Regions from separate parts of the Homo sapiens genome. Here regions 1 and 3 are each linked to region 2. Evidence: promoter capture Hi-C in 16 types of primary human blood cells and fetal thymus (Javierre and others, 2016). All regions are on one chromosome and are shown on one strand. Each heading gives the region's core, a stretch centred on a gene start or on the middle of the fragment in contact. The rest is flanking DNA. Distances are from core to core; before and after follow the strand shown. Region 1 overlaps LOC101927118 (a long non-coding RNA gene). Region 2 holds the start of FABP5 (fatty acid binding protein 5). Region 3 overlaps LOC101927118 (a long non-coding RNA gene).

Region 1 (3,100 bases), core at 534-3,033, 280 kb before region 2:
TAAATATTGATATCTTTCTCTAAGTTTGGGAAGTTCTCTGTCATTATCCTTTTGAATTAACTTTCTACCCTCTACTCTTTAAAGCCTCTACTCTTTAAGGCCAATAACTCTTAGATTTGTCATTTTGAGGGTATTTTCTAGATCTTGTGGGTGTGTTTCTTTCTTTATTATTCTTCTTTCTTTTTTCTCTGTTGACTGTGTATTTTCAAATAGCCTGCCTTCAAGATCACTAATTCTTTTGCTTTATCAGTTCTGCTGCTAAGAGACTTTTATGCATTCTTCAGTATGTCAGTTGCATTTTTCAGCTTCAGAATTTCTGCTTGATTCTTTTTAATGATTTCAATCTCCCTATTAAATTTATCTGATCAGACTCTGAATTTCTTCTTTGTGTTATCTTGAATTTCATTGTTTCCTCAAAATTACTTATTACCTATCTGAAATGTTATGTATTTCTGTCTCTCCAGGATTGGTCACTGGTACCTTATTTAGTTCATTTGGTGAGGTCATATTTTCCTGGCTGGTCTTGATGTTTGTGGAGGTTTGTCAGCATCTGGGCATTGGAGAATTGGGTATTTATTATAGTCTTTGCAATCTGGGCTTGTTTGTACCCATCCTTCTTGGAAAGGCTTTCTAGGTATTTGAAGGGACTTGCATGCTGTGATCTAAGTGTTTGATCACTGTAGCTGTATCTGTTTAGGGGTATCACAAGCCCAGTAATGCTGTGGCTATTGCAGACTCATAGAGGTACCACCTTGGTGGACTTGGATAAGATACAGAAGAATTATCTGGATTAACAGGCAGAGACTGGTCTTCACTCCTTCATTTCCCTCAAACAAAGTATCTCTCTGTGTGCTGAGCTGCCTGGAGCTGCGGGAGGGGTGGCCCAAGCACCCCTGTGGCCACCCCCACTGGGTCTGTGCTGGGTCTGACCTAAAGCTTGCAAAGCACTGGGTCTCACACAAGTCCTGCTGTAATCATTGCCTGACTACCACTTACATTTGCTCAAGGCTGAAGGCCCCAGGACTCTTATGATGAGAGGTTGTGAAGCCAACCAGGCTTGTATCCTCTCCTTAGGTAAGTAAGTTCCCCCGGATCCTGTGCAGGTCCAGAGATGCCATCTAGAATCCAGGGCCTAGAGTCAGAAACCTTAGGAATCTATGTGGTCCTCTATTCTACTGCAGCTAAGCTGGCACCCAAGCCACAAGATGAAGTTCTTCTCACTCTTTCCCTTTCCACAAGCAGGGGAGTCTCTTCTCTCCTGTGGCCACCACTGCCCCAGGCCCACAGTGAGTACTGCCTGGCTACCACCAATGTTCATTCAAGGCCCAAGGGCTCTTCAGTCAAGCTGTGGTAAATGCCAGATGTGGAACTCTCCCTTCAGGGCAGTGAGCTCCTGACTGGTCCAGGGCAGGTCCAGAAATGACATCCAAGAGCCAAGGCCTAGAATTGGGAACCCCAAGATGACACCTGGTGTTCTACCCTACTGTGGCCAAGCTGGTAGGTAAGCTACAAGACGAAGTCCCTTTACTTTTCCCTCTCTTTTTCTCAAGCAGAAGGGGTCCCTCCCCACAGCCACCCAAGGTGGGAAAAGACTGGGTCACCCCTGAAGCCAACACATCTCTGAGTCTTACCCAAGGGCTATAGTGATACTGCCGGGGTACCACTGCTGATTATTCAGGGCTCTTTAGTCAGCAGGTGATGAATCCTGCCAGAACTGGGTCCTTCCCTTCAAGGCAGCAGGTTCCCTTCTAGCCCAGGGTGTATCTGGGAGCTGGCATCTGGGATAGGGGCCTCAGGACTTTGCCTGATGCCCTATCTTACTGTGGCTGAGCTGGTATCCAAGTTGCAAGATAAAGTTTTCTTTATTCTCCCCTCTCCTCAAGTGGAAATAATCCCTTTTGGGGCTGGGAGCTGTACTGCCTGGTGTTGGAAGAGGCATGACACAAGCACTTCTCTGGATACCCTGGATAGTAGCTTACTATGTCATGTGCATCCCAAGTTCACTGGCTCCAATCCTAGCACTGCACCAGGACTTTCCTGGGAATTGCAGTCCTTATGGCCTAGACTGGCCTCTAAGTTTATTTAGGACCCCAGAGCACTTTGCCCCTCAGTGATGGGGCTAGCTGGAACTCAGGTTCCAAACACTGGGATGGATAACTCACCTCTGCCTAGGGCTGGCCTCAGTTCTCCCTCTGTGGGCACCGGCTGAGTTCTTCTAGTGTTGCTTTCGGCTTTGACAGGGCAGTACTGAGTTCCAATGCAAAGTCCCACAATCACCGTGCCCTCCTTCCCCCATGCACACAGATTCTATCTCTGTGCCATTGGTGATTCAAGACTGTCTTTCCTACCCTCTTCAGTGCCTCTCTCAGTGATATGAAGTTAAAACCAGATACTGTGATCACTCACCTGATTTTTGCTTCATATGAAGGTGATTTATGTGTGGATAGTTGTTCAATTTAGTGTTTCTGCAGGGAGAACAATGGGTGAAGGCTTCTATTTGGCCATTTTGTCTACCTTCCATATCACCAATATGTTTTAGGACCTTAGGTACAGTACTAGAAGAGAAAAAAATCAGTTTATGCCACTTTATTTTTTGCCAGTGGGTTCTCAACTTTTCAAACTTAAGCTTGGACCAATCTATTATATAGATTATTTTCCCATTTATGAAGTACTTTCATATGCACTGTTATCATTTTATTCTTTCAGAAAGAGTGGGAGATAATTACTCTGTTTTAGAGATTTGGAACTGAGAACAATTAGGACTTGCCCGAGCTCTCACAGTGACCAAAAATAGACTAGACTAGGAAGAAAAAATTCTGCCAGTTTTCCACCAAATCCTGTTGCTTCTAGGGGCTGGGAAAAGAGAACGAGAGGTTCTTAGAAAAGACATGTGATACAAACATAGAGTGGGATGAGAAGTTGTGTGCAGAGAAGGGTGGCCGGGTCACCTTCCCTCCTTTGCCCCGCAGCATTGTGGCTCCTCAGGCCACAGTAACACCCTGAAGATACAACAGCCAAATGTGAGTTCAACACGGAGGTTACTTTTGCTTTCCTCACTTACTACCTAGAAGCAGCACAGCCTAAGGATTAAGAGCATGGA
Region 2 (3,076 bases), core at 419-2,918:
TTGTACACACACACACACACACACACACACACACACTGTTATTTATTGGACAGGTGCAGTAAATCGCTTTTTCCAGAGTCATCTTGATGTAGGTTTACAAGGAAAAAGAAAAATACTGCCTTCTTTACTGATAGTATCAAAAATACACTCATGATTCACCATAAACCAGCCTTAACACCACATGGTCTTGGATAAAGGGTACTGAAGGAGTGATTCCGAAGTGCCACGGCGACCAGGTATCAATAGAGGGTCACGGTAGTTATTTCACCAGCGAGCAACCGGGTTAACATTTGTGGATACCGGCTTCTGAAGCACCCTCATAAATCCCAGCCATCCCTTAGGGCTGGAAGCTCCCTTCCAGAGAGGATCCATGCTATGCTAACTCCATCTCACTTCCTAGTGGCCTGTGACAAAGGTCCATTTTTGTTTGCAATTTATCCAGTGTCTCAATCAGCATGCAATCTGTCACTGGCATAGAAAAGGACAGTAATTTATAATGAAGCACTGTTTTGAGTGAGAAATGAATCTTACTACTGAGATTCATTCTCCCTCGGAACGCTTCAAGAAGTCATCTGCCTTCTGCAGGGCCACACCCATCTTGCATGCAGTTAGCCGCAGGAGGGCCAGGCAGTTTCTGTTACGGTTTTCCAGCAAAGCCCACTGCCTCCTTCCTCCTCACCCTCAAGTGGCAGAGGCCAGGATGGCAACACACGGCCACCCCCAGGCCTCATTGCGCTCCTCCCACAGGCCACCCGCCCACTGCGGCGCCCCGGCCCGGCAGTGCCAGCAGCAGGTCGGCACCGCCAGCGCCACGCTTCTCGGGGGCCCTGGTGTTCCATGGGGTACCAATCCAAAGGGTTCGGCTCAACTGGTAAGGGCGAGCAGAGGACCTGGGGGAGACGGGGCTGACAGAGGAATGCAAGCTGAAGCTGTAGCGCCACTCAGACCCCTCCACAGGATTTCTGCGGGAAACTGCGCGCCAGCACCGCGTCCCCATGAAGAAAACGGAGGGTGACCTGCGCGCCACAGGGAACAAAAGATGCGACAGGGAGGGAAAGGGGAGTGGGTGCTGCCACGATGGGGTAAATGGGAGAGACAGAATGGTGGCAGGAAGGGGAAGGATGAGTAAAGGGGGAAAAAAGGGAAATACAGGGTCGCCTGGAGGGGGTCGAAAGAAGTGCAGCGTGAGGTGACGGGTGCGCGCGCTAAAGGACAGGAAGCAATGCGGAAGGGCTGCCGTTTGGGCGAAGGGAAAGAAGCAGAGGTAGGTGGACCACGGGGTGGACCACCTCCGGAATCTTGCGGCCCGCGGGCGGGCAAGAGGCGCGCACGCTCCCTGCTCCTCGCCGCCTGCCCGCGTGGTGCTGCGCGCGCTGCACCCAACGGCCGCGTGGTGGGGAAGATGGGAGGGGATGGGGGTAGGCCGCCGAGCATCTCCTGCCCCAGAATCTGGCACGCTGACGGGGACCTAGGGACAGACGACCGCACAACACGCCACGTTGCAGGCGCTGCCAGGCCGGGTGCCTCACCTAGCTCCTTCATGTATTCATCAAAGCCTTTGCTGTCCACCAGGCGCCATCTTCCTTCCAGCTGCTGAACTGTGGCCATGGTGGGTGCGGGCGGGCTGGCGTGCAGAGAGGGGTCTGCGTCGGCGTGGCAGCGTGCTGTGAGGCACCCGGCGCCGGCGGCTGCTTTATAACGGCGGCCCGCGCTGGGCGGCGCTATGCGGCCAATGGGAGGCGGGCCTCGCCCGGTCCCCGCCCCGCCCGCCGGGCGCCCCCTGGGCCTTCTCGGGGTCGGGAGGTGCTAACCAGCTCCTCTTGCCAGGGTACGCGACGGCCTCTCGGGCGCCTCCTGCAAGCAGGGACTCGCCCGGCGCGCCCCACGCCTCATGGACGCCGGCGCCTGCACGTTTCGGCGCCTCTGCAGGCCCAGGAAGCCAGAGGGGTCACCTGGAGGCCTGGCCCCGCCTCTCCTGCACCCCTCCGTTTGACAACATATCCACCGCCGTTTTTCCTTTCAAAATACCCGGACCAATCGATTAGCCCTCGCCGGACTCGGACTGCAGGAAGTGATTGATCGGCTGTTTGGTTTATTGATTCATTAACTACGGTGCCTCCCTGACCTTCTGCTCCTCGCCAGCGCACAAGCTCACAATCCACACCCTCCTAAGAGAACCTGCTCTCGCCATCCGCAGGTCTCCCTGGCCCAATAGTGGGGATATACCTGAGTTGAGCTAGAGGATTTTATCCCTGTTGGGATGGGGGACGTCTCGGGAAGTGTGGTTTCTAAACTAAAAGACTGCAGGAAGTGTCAACTTTAGTGACTGTCATTGCCATTCAAGAATGTTTGATTAGTTTATATTCCCTTCGTAGTGCACCCTTCACCGTTTCTTCTCAGACACCAGCGGGTTTCTTCTCAGACACCAGCGGGTTCCCTCTTTCTCTTGAACTATAATAATACCCTACACATGTGCGTAGAACATGATACGTTTCAAAGTGTACTCTTCACAATTTATTACTTGGTGCTCCCGGGTGCCTGTTGGAAGTCAGATGGACTGAGGTGAGGAAGTTGCCACACAGGCTGGCCGTTTCGATAGCGGTAATGTGCATTTATTGAGTAGCTACTAAGTGCTAGATGTGCTTCCTGGGCACTTTATAGACATTGGTCTCCACTATATTTTTGCTAGGGGTGTTATCCCAATTTTTCAAAAGAGAAAATAGGGCAAAGATAGTTCTCACAGTGGTAGAACCAGAATCCCCATCCAGGTCCGTCTCACTGAAGACCTTATGAAATCAGACCACACCTGACTGCCTTGGGCTCAGGGTAGCTGTGATGGAGCTCTGAGTAGACCACAGTCACCGAGACACTACTAGTTCTTGTATCATCCTTGACAAAATTGAAATCTGAGGTTGGTTTGCTATCTCCCAACATGCTGCAGGACATGTACTCCCCTGAACTGCATCCCTTTCATTTCAAGTCCCTGCCCTCAGTTTAGGGTCACACCAGTCTTCCTTGTGGTACCATTTAACACTCAATTGTTTTCCCAATAAGGGTCTGCATGTCCCACACCCGA
Region 3 (3,270 bases), core at 375-2,874, 260 kb before region 2:
ATCAATTACCAATAATCTCCTAAATTAATTTTAAAATAGTGCTTGCTCATCATCTTCACTTTGACTTGAACCAGAGCCCAGGCGCTAAACTAGTTTTCCACCTTGTGTTCCTTTCCAGTAGAGCCATAATCATTAAAATAGCATGAGATGATGTAGTCTCTCATGAAAGCTACTCTACATTGCCCAAACCTGCTGAAGAATCATCATATGCAATTGTTTCTGGAATGTCATCATTCAGTTTAGATTTCACAGTTGATGTTAATATGGGAGGGATAAATTACTCACATACCGCCTAGCCTGAAGCTAATTAGTTTCGTAAGTACATGTATGATCACAAAGCCAGAGATGGAAGTGCTCTGCCTTCAATGACAATGTCTTTTACTACTGGATATTTCATTGTAATTTTTAGACTCCGAAGTGTGAAAATGTTAAGCTTAAAGGTCCTAAATTGGAGATTATATCAGAATATTTTATAAAGCTTTTGATAGAACAGTGGATTTTCTTCCCACAGTTTTCACTGAAGTCAACCCTTAGAGCACAGGTTGCCTTTTCCACAGCAGCAAGGGGCCAATGTTGTCAGGTAGTCTTTGTCCTCCACACCTCCCACCCCTGCCAGCTATCCTGACTCACCAAATTTTGCAACTGTTTTAATCACTGATGTTGTGAAAGATATTAATCTCATCTCTATTCTGCTCAAAATGTGGGAAAATCTTTTCTCAGTTCATCAGCAACAAGATTAGACCTTTTCAAAAGAGGAGATTAGAAATCAGACACATAAAAGTTAGAAATGGGTGCATGCGTAAATATGGATTAGTGACCCAATGGCTTGTCTGCAGATCACTGGCAACTTGAGTACACTCTGCACTCCCAGAGAGTTGCATATTGGTTATCCATGACCTATCCCTCACCTGTAGACTTGTGGGAATATCCAGCCCCATCCAGAGCTCATTTATGACTCAGAGAGATGTGGAATCCCATAAGCTTTTCCCTGTGTCCTCTCACCAGGTTGGTTCTAGCTTTCGGGTCCTTGTAGGGTTGCCTCAATTACCTCCAAGTCATTTGACTGCTGGTCTTCCTGTTCCCTTAAAAATCCCTGTGCCATGGTCCCATTCAGACCATATTTCCCAAAGATGATAGTTGCCAAGATGCCCCAAGGTGAGTGCCCAGTGTTACCCTATATAAAGCAAGAACCCCCCCAGGCTCCCTTATGACAGACTGGGTCAGGAACATTTTTAAGGAGTAAGTTCTCCTGATTTTTAAGAGTAAGTTCTCCTGATGTTTAACTTTCAGCATTTCACTTCGTTCCCTTTCCTCAAGAGAAGGAGGTCAAGGCCAGTAGCTCCCGGGAAGTTTCCCTTTTCTCCATTCTGGCTGGGATTTTATAACAATACTCCATCAGCAAATTGTCTTTACAGAGTCAGTAGGTTCTTGTTTTTGAGACTTCACTGACACAAAAGTAAAGAAAGTCTGGCCCTAGAGGAAGTTGTTTACCTTTCTAGTTTTATTCCCAGGCCTCTAGTGGCTCCTAGACATTACCTCTAGGCTCAGATCCTGTTGAAAGATTTTCTTTGTCTTTTTTTTTTTTTTTTTTTTTTTTTTTTTTTAAACCCTGGGACTCCTGGAAGTCCAGTCCTATTTGTTGAGCTGTTGATTGGGAAGTATTTCTACACGCTGTCCTATTTCTGGATACTTCCAAGTCATGGTCGGATCTGACAAGTAAAGCACAACATCTGAGGTTATAGTAACAATAGATAGAAATCCAAGTATCGTCAGCATGGGAGACACATGGAGACTTCTAGAAGGCAGTACTTAAAATACCAGGCAGGTTGACTGTCAGCAAGAGGGAAGCCTTTGGCAGGTAGCAGGTCCACAGGCACAGAGTAAGGGATCAAAGGCAAAACTCCATTCAGTTAAAAAAGAAAAAACCTTGCAAACACAAGATATGGTCTGAGCCTCATCAGGGGTGTTACCATGCAAGGACTGAGGCCAGGGGAATTGCTCAGAAACTTAGCAGTCAGAATTAGTTTGCAAATTGAGCGTGGGGGTCTCAAAAGTACACAGATGCTCAATAATCGAAACTGATATGTATTTCAGGTCCAGACAAGATTGAGCTAATGTTAATTCCCAGGCTGATGGTAAACAACAGGGCTTCTCAAATTTTATTGTATGTTTAAACAATTCACCAAAGAAATCTTTTGAAAAATGCATGTTTTTGATTCAGTAAATCTGGAGTTGGTTCTGATCATCTGCAATGCTAACAAGCTTCCAGGTGATGCAGATACTGCATATCTGTGATACACGCTTTGTGTGTGTGTCTTTTTATATTTGTTGATTTTTTTTTTTTTTTTTGAGACAGAGTCTCACTCTGTCAACCAGGCTGCAGTGCAGTGGCGTGATCTCGGCTCACTGCAACCTCCACCTCCCGGGTTCAAGCAGTTCTCTACCTCAGCCTCCCAAGTAGCTGGGATTACAGGCACCCACCACCAAACCTGGCTAATTTTTTGTATTTTTAGTAGAGATGAGGTTTCACTATCTTGGCCAGACTGGTCTTGAACTCCTGACCTCGTGATCCACCCGCCTCGGCCTCCCAAAGTGCTGGGATTACAGGTGTGAGCCACCGTGCCTGGCCTTGATTTGTTTTTAAATGTTGAAATAATTTTTGGTTTACAGAGAAGTTGCAAATACAGTACAGAGCTCCCACATACCCTTCATCCTGCTTCCCCTAATGTTAACATCTAACGTGTATATTTTTCAAAACCAATAAATGAACATTGCTACAATACTAGCAACTAAACTATAGACTTTATTTGGATTTCTCCATTTGTTCTACTAATGTTTCTTTCTGTTCCAGGATCCAATTTGGGATCCCACATTGCATTTGGTCATCATGTTTCCTTAGTTTCCACAGATCTGTGACAATTTCCCAGGTTTTCCTTGTGATTCATGACCTTGACAGTTTGAAGAGTATTTTGTAGAATATCCCTCAATTTTGTCTTCATATATCTGAGATTACATGAAGATTAAATTTGGGTTATGAGTGTTTAGGAAGACCACAGAAGTGAAATGCCTTCTCATTGCATCCTAGCAGAGGGTACATGACAGCATGACTTTACACTGGGGATATTAAACTTGATCCTGTGGTTAATGTGATATTTACCAGTTTGCTGAAGTTACTATTTTTCCCTTTTCACACTCTGTTCTTTGGAAGTGAGTCTAAGTGTGGTCAATGGTTCTCATATTTGAGCATGCATCAGAATCACTTGGAGGACT

The links. The method cuts DNA at HindIII sites, captures the fragments that hold promoters and counts their contacts. A CHiCAGO score of 5 or more calls a contact.
Region 1: a contact is called between a fragment that was not itself captured here and the fragment with the promoter of FABP5 in region 2, in 4 of 17 cell types (M2 macrophages, M1 macrophages, M0 macrophages and 1 more). The highest score is 15.5, in M2 macrophages.
Region 3: a fragment that was not itself captured here is called in contact with the fragment with the promoter of FABP5 in region 2 in 4 of 17 cell types (M0 macrophages, M2 macrophages, endothelial precursors and 1 more); the score reaches 11.9 in M0 macrophages.

Annotation. Positions count from the first base shown.
Region 1 is chr8:81,560,828-81,563,927 of GRCh38, reverse strand. LOC101927118 (a long non-coding RNA gene) reads right to left here. Exons shown (of 9, transcript XR_001745980.2): 6 at 2,407-2,555. It also overlaps a transcript of FABP12 not described here. Among named protein-coding and RNA genes, the nearest start is that of FABP12, 29 kb to the right of the region's middle. The HindIII fragment of the contact is 1,690 bases long and covers 939-2,628 here.
Region 2 is chr8:81,279,128-81,282,203 of GRCh38, reverse strand. FABP5 (fatty acid binding protein 5) reads right to left here and starts at 1,668. Exons shown (of 4, transcript NM_001444.3): 1 at 1,530-1,668. The coding sequence starts at 1,608. LNMICC (lncRNA associated with lymph node metastasis in cervical cancer) reads left to right here and starts at 780. Exons shown (of 2, transcript NR_186603.1): 1 at 780-871; 2 at 1,828-3,076. RefSeq lists enhancers at 356-1,190, 1,191-2,025 and silencers at 1,620-1,909, 1,920-1,999. The HindIII fragment of the contact is 5,532 bases long and covers 1-3,076 here.
Region 3 is chr8:81,540,245-81,543,514 of GRCh38, reverse strand. All of the region lies in intron 3 of LOC101927118 (a long non-coding RNA gene), which reads right to left. It also overlaps a transcript of FABP12 not described here. Among named protein-coding and RNA genes, the nearest start is that of FABP12, 8.0 kb to the right of the region's middle. The HindIII fragment of the contact is 1,281 bases long and covers 984-2,264 here.